Linked DNA regions of Homo sapiens: region 1 is linked to region 2. The links are contacts of gene promoters, found by promoter capture Hi-C in blood cells and fetal thymus (Javierre and others, 2016). All regions are on one chromosome and are shown on one strand. The core of a region is centred on a gene start or on the middle of the fragment in contact, and the rest is flanking DNA. Distances in the headings are between cores, read along the strand shown.

Region 1 (3,803 bases), core at 54-2,553, 750 kb after region 2:
TTCCTCAGCCTCCTGAGTACCTAAGACTACAGGCATGTACCACTACCTCCCACTAATTAATTTTTTTTTTTTGAAACGGGGTGTCACTATGTTGACCAAGTTGGTCTTCAACTCATGGCCTCAAGCAGTCCTTGCCTCGCCCCCAAAGTGTTGGGATTACAGGAGTGAGCCACTGTGCCTGGCCTGGTTTTTTCTGATGTACACAAAGTTGCTATGAGTACTAGCCATAGAGTGTGGTGAGGGGAGGGTGAATATGAAACACAAAGTGTAGATTCCACAAATGCTTGCAAAGCACCCTTCTGTAGAGTAGGCACTTAACCTTGGAGATACATGATAAATATGTGTGTGCTTAAGATTGCTTTGTCTAGTAAGGTGCCAGATAATTCTAATACTGTTCTAACACTGCAGTTAAGTAATGGTTCTCGAGGGAACACAGGTGGGCAGTGTTGGGACATCAAGGAAGGCTTCTTAGAAGAAATGACTTCTAAACAAAAGAAATTGGACGTGGTGCCTCTGAGATGAGATCTGAGTGGCTGAAAATGGAGCCCCGGGAGTCCAGAGAGGGAGAAAGCTGGAGAGGTGCCTAGATGGACGGTTAAGGGAAGTGATCCTCACCTCTTACAAAGACTTTTGAGTGTCCACTGCCCTTCAGCAGCTTCCAACTGAGAAGTCATTCATTTGAAAAACAGCAGCTATTAGATGCCTGGCAAAGAAGAGAAGGGGAAAAAAGTTGGAAGTCCTAAATGAGACAATAAGTACCAAGCTCTGTTCCTGGTTCTGGGGAAGTTCCAAAGGAGACTGCAAAGTTAGTAGAGAAATGGGCCCCTGGTATCCTCACCTCCCAGTCCTGCTTAATGCTGAATGTGAGGAGAGATGGAAGTCGGGGAGATCTGGGGAGGACTACAGAGAAGGGAGGCTCTGGTTGTATGCCCAAAGGGCTTGGCTGGTCTTGGGCAGAAATTGGAACCCATACTTCCTGGATGACAGCGGAGGGCATGGCCTGCCAGGGTAGGCTTTGAGAGAGTAAAAATTCCAATTCAAGTATCAGAGGAGGGTGGTTTGGTTCCAAGTTTAAGCTTGGAGGTAGAAGGATGTTTAGGCAGCCAAGGACTGTAAAGCTACAAGTATTTCCTAGGCAGGTGTCTGCCTGGTTTCCAGGATGGGACACACTTCAGTCGCAAAATGGACCAGCAGTGACCGGCTAGATCCCCCGCCCGGGTGGGAGGGGGTGGGACGGTCTTGGGAGAAGGGCGGAGGGCGGGGCCAGGGGCCACTTAAGGCGGAGTCCGGAGTCCGGGCGTTCTGGCAGCACCAGAGTCCTGCAGCAGAGACGGGCTGGGCTGGCACTCACCCACGACCCCCCTTCCCTGCTATGATGGTTTGTCAGTAGCAGGTCCTAGACACCCCCCGCCCGCTCCCGGGGCACGTGGGCAGAGCTAGCAGCAGCCAGGTGCACGGAGCCACAAGAGCTCTAGGGCACTCTGGGGGCAGCTGTGCCTGCTGCCCTCTCTGGTGCCTGTGGAGATGCCTAACTGACAGGAGAGTTAGTGAGGACAAGAACGCTCCCTTTTGGCCGAGGTCCGCTGTATCCATGGCTCTCCTGACCAATCTACTGCCCCTGTGCTGCTTGGCACTTCTGGCGCTGCCAGCCCAGAGCTGCGGGCCGGGCCGGGGGCCGGTTGGCCGGCGCCGCTATGCGCGCAAGCAGCTCGTGCCGCTACTCTACAAGCAATTTGTGCCCGGCGTGCCAGAGCGGACCCTGGGCGCCAGTGGGCCAGCGGAGGGGAGGGTGGCAAGGGGCTCCGAGCGCTTCCGGGACCTCGTGCCCAACTACAACCCCGACATCATCTTCAAGGATGAGGAGAACAGTGGAGCCGACCGCCTGATGACCGAGGTAAGGAGGGCCTCTCCCTACCTGCGCCGGGGCACTGCCAGCTCCTCCGTTTTCCTATGGCAGCCCAGGTGGGTGAGTCCAGCTTCACCTACAGAGAGTTTAGCCTTAGAGATTTCCCTTGTCACCAGCCCCAGGGGGGGGAAAAATCCTTGCAGTCTGGACAGAGTAATTAGGACGGCTCCCGACTAGAATAGTCTGGGATGGGGAGGGGAGGAGGGACTGACTAGTGAGAGTGAAGCTGGTAGAGGCAGCGAGGGCGGGGAAAGGAGGATGGCGGCAGGCGAGACGGGAAATGGCTGAGGCGTGGACCGGGGGTCAGCCACCCAGCCAGGCAGGAAGGGCTGGGGTGAGCTGGGGGCCAGGAGCTGGCTAGGTAGCAGACAGAAGCCTGGCTCCTGACCTGATTGTAGAAAAGCTCTGTGGGCCGAAAAGAAGAGACTGAAAAGGGCTGGGACAGGGGTGGCCAAGGGTCAGGTCACCAGACCATCTACCTGAGGAGGGGCTGGGCAGACATTGCTTTTGGCATGGGAAACGTGTCCTAGAACCAGGACACATCTATTCTAGGGTCTATTCTAGGGCTATCCTAGGGTCTAAACGATAATCTTGGGGTTAAAAAGTAATCCTCAGTGAGAATAACAGATGGACCCACCTGAGAATCAGAGGGCTCCTAAGTCTTCCAAGCTCTGCCTATCTCAGGGGCTTTCCTTGGAATTACATAATTAGGATAAATTCAACTACCATTTTTGAGCATTGGAACCACCTAGAGTGAGGTGGAAGAGAAGGACCACCTCTGGCGAGTGATTTATTTTTTATTTTTTGTAGAGACGGGGTCTTGCCATGTTGCCTAGGCTAGTCTTGAACTCCTGAGCTCAAGGGATCCTCCCACCTCGGCCTCCCAAAGTGCTGGATTACAGGTGTGAGCCACTTCATCCAGCCTGGCCAGTGATCTTGAATGTTAGAACTGAAAGAAAACTTGAGAGATGACATTCCTCCAACCCTCCCCACCCCCACTGCCACCCTCATTTTACATCTGAGAGCTGGACTTCCCCCAGGAGGAAAAGCAATTTAAACTCTCACAATTTAAAGTGGCATGGCTGGGACTAGAATTCAGGACTCCTGATTCTAAGCCCTATATACTTTCCATTACACCACCTAATTGTGTATGGAGTGGGGAGGTGGGGGGAGAGGGAGGGGTACGGATTTCCTCTGATTAATTGCCATAGTTTTCCAGGTTACTTTGTTAGGAAAACCTGTCCAGGGAAGAAATAATTCCTTTTGCTTCTGCCCTGAAGCCTTCCTCCTACCTAGAGATGGGAAAAGGGGCATTCCTTCTTTCCTCCTTGGCCGTGGAACATTGTGGCCCTTTCCTCTGGTTGCCACCTGCAGCAGAGTGGGCAGAACAAGGGACAGGCTCAGGAGGGGCTCCGGCAGGCCTGGGAGCCCCCTCAGTCTTACTTATCTCCCACACCCTGGCTGCAAAAGGCCTCCATTGAGTTGGCTCTGCACTGGGCTGCTGCCCCCGCAGGTCAGGGCCTCGGGGCCTCCTTAGGGGACGAAACGACAAAGTTGGAAGGAGCTACCACTTTTCCTGTTTTCCCCCCACCCAACCCCAACTCTGCGGGGTGGAGGAGACTAGAGGAGAGGGGAAAAGTGTCTTTCTGTTAGGAGAAAACCAAGTCCGAGGTGAGAGGTCGGAGGGGAAAGAAAAAAAGGAAGCTGTCCCTCTGCGCCTCCTCCCGCGGTGTCCCTGCTATGGTGCGCGCCAAGGTCTCCCGCTCCCAGGCTGGAGCGGCCAAGATAACTGTGGTCTCACTCCCCCAGGTGCAGGCTTCCAGCCGCAGCTTCTTTTCCTCTTCTCCGCTCTCACCCTGCAGGGGGCTCCCCAGATCCGCACAAGGAGACCGTTATT
Region 2 (3,759 bases), core at 63-2,562:
TCAAAAAAAGGAGAAAAGAAAAAGAAAATATAAAGTAAAAACTGAGAGGAAAACAGCGCTTATTTTAACTCCTGATGGTACTGTTTGCAGGAGTCATGCTCCAGTGCCTTATAAGAAGTTTACCGAACTGCCAGCCTCATGGAGCAGGATACCCCTTTAAGATGGGTGGGCCAGGTGCAGGGGTGGGGTTGGGGGTCCTGCACAACTCTGCTGATGCTTGGTTGACCCTGACGGATATTCTGGGCCATCCTGGCTTTTGACTGGAACCTGCTACCTAGGTTGACCCTTCAGTTCCTCTCCTTATCAGCTCTGTTATTTCCAATCTCTGAGTCACATCTTGCCCAACTCCATTCCACTATGTCTGCTTCAGTTGGCATCCTTTCTCCCTTCCATTTAAAGTTTCCCCAAACAGATCTGGCCTTATTGTATTCTCTATTGAGTTTTCATTCAACAACATTTGTTGAGCATCTTTGTGCCAGGCCCATGTTAAGTATAGGAGACTCAAGGCTGAGAATAACACACCGTTGCAAGCACATCCTCTGGATCCAAACTCCCTGGGTTCGAATCCTAGTACCATCATTTCTAACTGTGGGATCTTGGACAAGTTACTTTGTTTTACTCCAGTGTCCTCATCTATATAAAAAGAATAATAATACGGTCATTTTCTCACGGGGTGAGAGGATTGACTAAGGAGCTTACAAGGGTGTCTGGTGCCTGGTAAGCACTCTTTAAGTGCTGGCTCTTAAGGCACGGTCCTTGCCTCTCAAGGAGCTCATGGTCTACAGTTGCCCCTGGGGGACAGGGCTGAGTCGGCTGGCTTCGCAAGTGACCTGCACCTCCTGGCTACCCTTTCCTGAACCGGGTGGAAGTTTTTGAGTCACAGATTCAATGTATGACCCCAGACAAGTAAGTTCTCTCGGTCTCACTTTTTGCATTTATAAAGAAAGGAAATTGGACTAAAATTGATTTCCAAGATCCCAACAAACTAGTATACTTGTTCTGGGTCAAGTAGCCCAAGTTTCAAACTATGTCAGCTTGGCCAAGACACTTAGCCCTCAGAGTTTGTTTCATCCCTGTAAAACGTGGATGATATTGCTAATCCCCTCCCAGTGTTGTGATGAGGGTTCAATAATACAAGGCAAGCCCCAGGCGCTCGCCGGCTCCAGGTATACAGCGAGAGGAAATCAGGACAGCTTTTCTGATTCACCGCAGAATTCTAGCCACCCGCCCTAGCCGTTCGACGCACGCGCGCTGGCACCGCCACCGCCCACGCCGACAGCAGGTTCCCGGCTTCCGGTTCCGCCACGGCCCAGAGGCTGTGTTGAGGCTAATGGCGGTGCCCACGGAACTGGATGGAGGGAGTGTTAAGGAGACCGCAGCGGAAGAGGAATCGCGAGTTCTGGCACCTGGCGCCGCCCCGTTCGGAAATTTTCCTCATTATTCTCGCTTCCACCCTCCGGAGCAACGGCTCCGCCTCCTGCCCCCGGAGCTGCTTCGACAGCTCTTTCCTGAGAGTCCCGAGAACGGGCCGATTCTGGGGCTCGACGTGGGGTGTAACTCCGGGGTGAGTGACAGGGGAGGGATTGGAGCATCCGGAGCCAAGTGGTTGGCTGCCTACACATCCACTGTGGTTCTGGCCTGGGCTAACACCCATCGAAACTTTCCCAAAACGAGTATAAAGCGTGGCTTTGACTGAGCCAGTGCCGCTGCTGCCTGCCCGCCAGGGTTCCACCATCTGTCTTAGGAATCTCTCTTGGAGAGGAGTCCTTGTCGACTACGTTCCCACTTTTCTTTCAGGGCCAGACCCCAGGTGGGAACGGTCCTTGTATCTAGGGTGGCCTCTGTCCAGCGTGCCTGGCGCTTTGGCTGGGGAGAGGGGGCTTCCAGAGACACACGTTTGGGAACATGGGGTTAGGTTTGGTTTACTGGGAGAGAAGAGCCAAGGGTGACAGAATCATGCCTGATATTGAGACTCATGTGTGCTATACAGTGCAGGACAGACCCTGGGACCTGCATGTTTATTTCAAAAAAAGTGAGTAGGCCGGGCGCGCTGGCTCACGCCTGTAATCCCAGCACTTTCGGAGGCCGAGGCGGGTGGATCACAAGGTCACGAGATCGAGACCATCCTGGCTAACACGGTGAAACCCCGTCTCTACTAAAAATACAAAAAATTAGCCGGTCGTGGTGGCGGGCGCCTGTAGTCCAGCTACTCCGGAGGCTGAGGCAGGAGAATGGCGTGAACCCGGGAGGCGGAGCTTGCAGTGAGCCGAGCTAGTGCCACTGCACTCCAGCCTGGGCGACAGAGCGAGACTCCGTCTCAAAAACAAAACAAAACAGTGAGTTGACAGAGTACAGTGGAGAGGATCGAGAAGCAAATAAAGCATTTTGCCCAAGGGAATGGAGAAGGGCGGCACTGCCACTCTTCTTGCTGCAAACTATTCTTAGGCATATGATTATAATCAAACCACATGCAAAATAAGGAAATGTCTCTCCCACACCTATTTGTAGCCACTGGGATATTCTACACTAGCAGGCAGTCTGAACTTACCACGGCAAATGCTTCAAAAGTTAGTACCCTCTCTGCGCTCCCTCCATCACTCCAGTCCAGCATCTGGAGGGCGGGGGACAATTCTGTTACGTTGCTGTCCTTTTACAGAAGAGACTTTGGGGGACGACTTCAGACCTTGTGGGACTCAGATGATAGTAGGAAGGGGACATTTGGATACAGTCTCAAAGACTGGAATGAGGAGATGGGTTGATGTCCTGTGTCCCCTGCAAAATTTCTCCGCTGTGATGATACGGGAAGTCAGAGGGTAAAAACAATGGAAAAGAGAGACTGAGGTTAAGGCTTGGGATTTCACGAAAGGCATTAGGAAACCACCAGAGATTTTAAAGTTGAGAGTAGTATACACATGAGAGGTAAAGACATAGTTGGCAGCTAACTAGGGTAGTGGTTCCCAAACCTGGCTGTACGTTTATGGAGCTTTCTGTTTTGCAGTTTTTAAAAAATGCTTTTTCTTGTGGATCTTTGTAGTCAGGAAAGGGAAAAAAAATGCTTGCGCTTGATAAAACAAAAAAATTCAAACTACAAAGGGGTATATACTAAAAAGTAAGTCTCTACTCCCAACCCTAAATCCTCCTTTTCCCCCACACAGTGGCACTACTGTTTATAATTTCTTAGGTATCAGTCTTGTGTGTATACCAGCATTTACGTACATATAAGTACCCCCCTTTTAGTTTTACAAATGGTAACACACTATTAGTAGCTTTTAATTCTGAGATTATTTATATCACCACATTCTTTTTTTAGCAGCTTCCTAATGTTTCATTGGATAGATGTACCATAATTTATGGGTGCTTTTTTTTTTCAATTTTAAAAACTCCTTTCCCAGCCTGGGCAACATGGCAAAACCCCATCTCTAAAAAAAATTAGCCAGGTGTGGTGGTGGGCATCTGTAGTCCCAGCTACTTAGAGAGCTGAGGGAGGAGGATCGCTTGAACCCAGGAGGTCGAGGCTGCAGTGAGCCTTGATTGTGCCACATACCCCAGCCTGGGTGACGAAGTGAGACCCTGTCTCAAATAAAACAACAACAAAAAACCCAAAAAACTGCTGGGTGCAGTGGCTGACGCTGTAATCCCAGCATTTTCAGAGACTGACGCTGGTGGATTGCTTGAGCTCGGGAGTTTGAGATCAGCCTGGGCAACATGGCAAAATCTCATCCCTACCAAAAATACAAAAATTAGCTGGGCATGGTGGTG

Evidence for each region. The method cuts DNA at HindIII sites, captures the fragments that hold promoters and counts their contacts. A CHiCAGO score of 5 or more calls a contact.
Region 1: a contact is called between the fragment with the promoter of DHH here and the fragment with the promoter of BCDIN3D in region 2, in 4 of 17 cell types (monocytes, non-activated CD4 T cells, neutrophils and 1 more). The highest score is 7.1, in monocytes.

The regions. Positions count from the first base shown.
Region 1 is chr12:49,092,301-49,096,103 of GRCh38, reverse strand. DHH (desert hedgehog signaling molecule) reads left to right here and starts at 1,303. Exons shown (of 3, transcript NM_021044.4): 1 at 1,303-1,894. The coding sequence starts at 1,592. DHH-AS1 (DHH antisense RNA 1) reads right to left here. Exons shown (of 4, transcript XR_007063295.1): 1 at 3,762-3,803; 2 at 3,199-3,274; 3 at 1,916-1,982; 4 at 360-703. RefSeq lists a cis regulatory region at 3,349-3,366 and an enhancer at 3,286-3,430. The HindIII fragment of the contact is 10,631 bases long and covers 1,079-3,803 here.
Region 2 is chr12:49,840,659-49,844,417 of GRCh38, reverse strand. BCDIN3D (BCDIN3 domain containing RNA methyltransferase) reads left to right here and starts at 1,312. Exons shown (of 2, transcript NM_181708.3): 1 at 1,312-1,564. The coding sequence starts at 1,331. BCDIN3D-AS1 (BCDIN3D antisense RNA 1) reads right to left here. Exons shown (of 3, transcript NR_027501.1): 3 at 3,264-3,759. RefSeq lists enhancers at 970-1,029, 1,600-1,969. The HindIII fragment of the contact is 7,812 bases long and covers 1-3,759 here.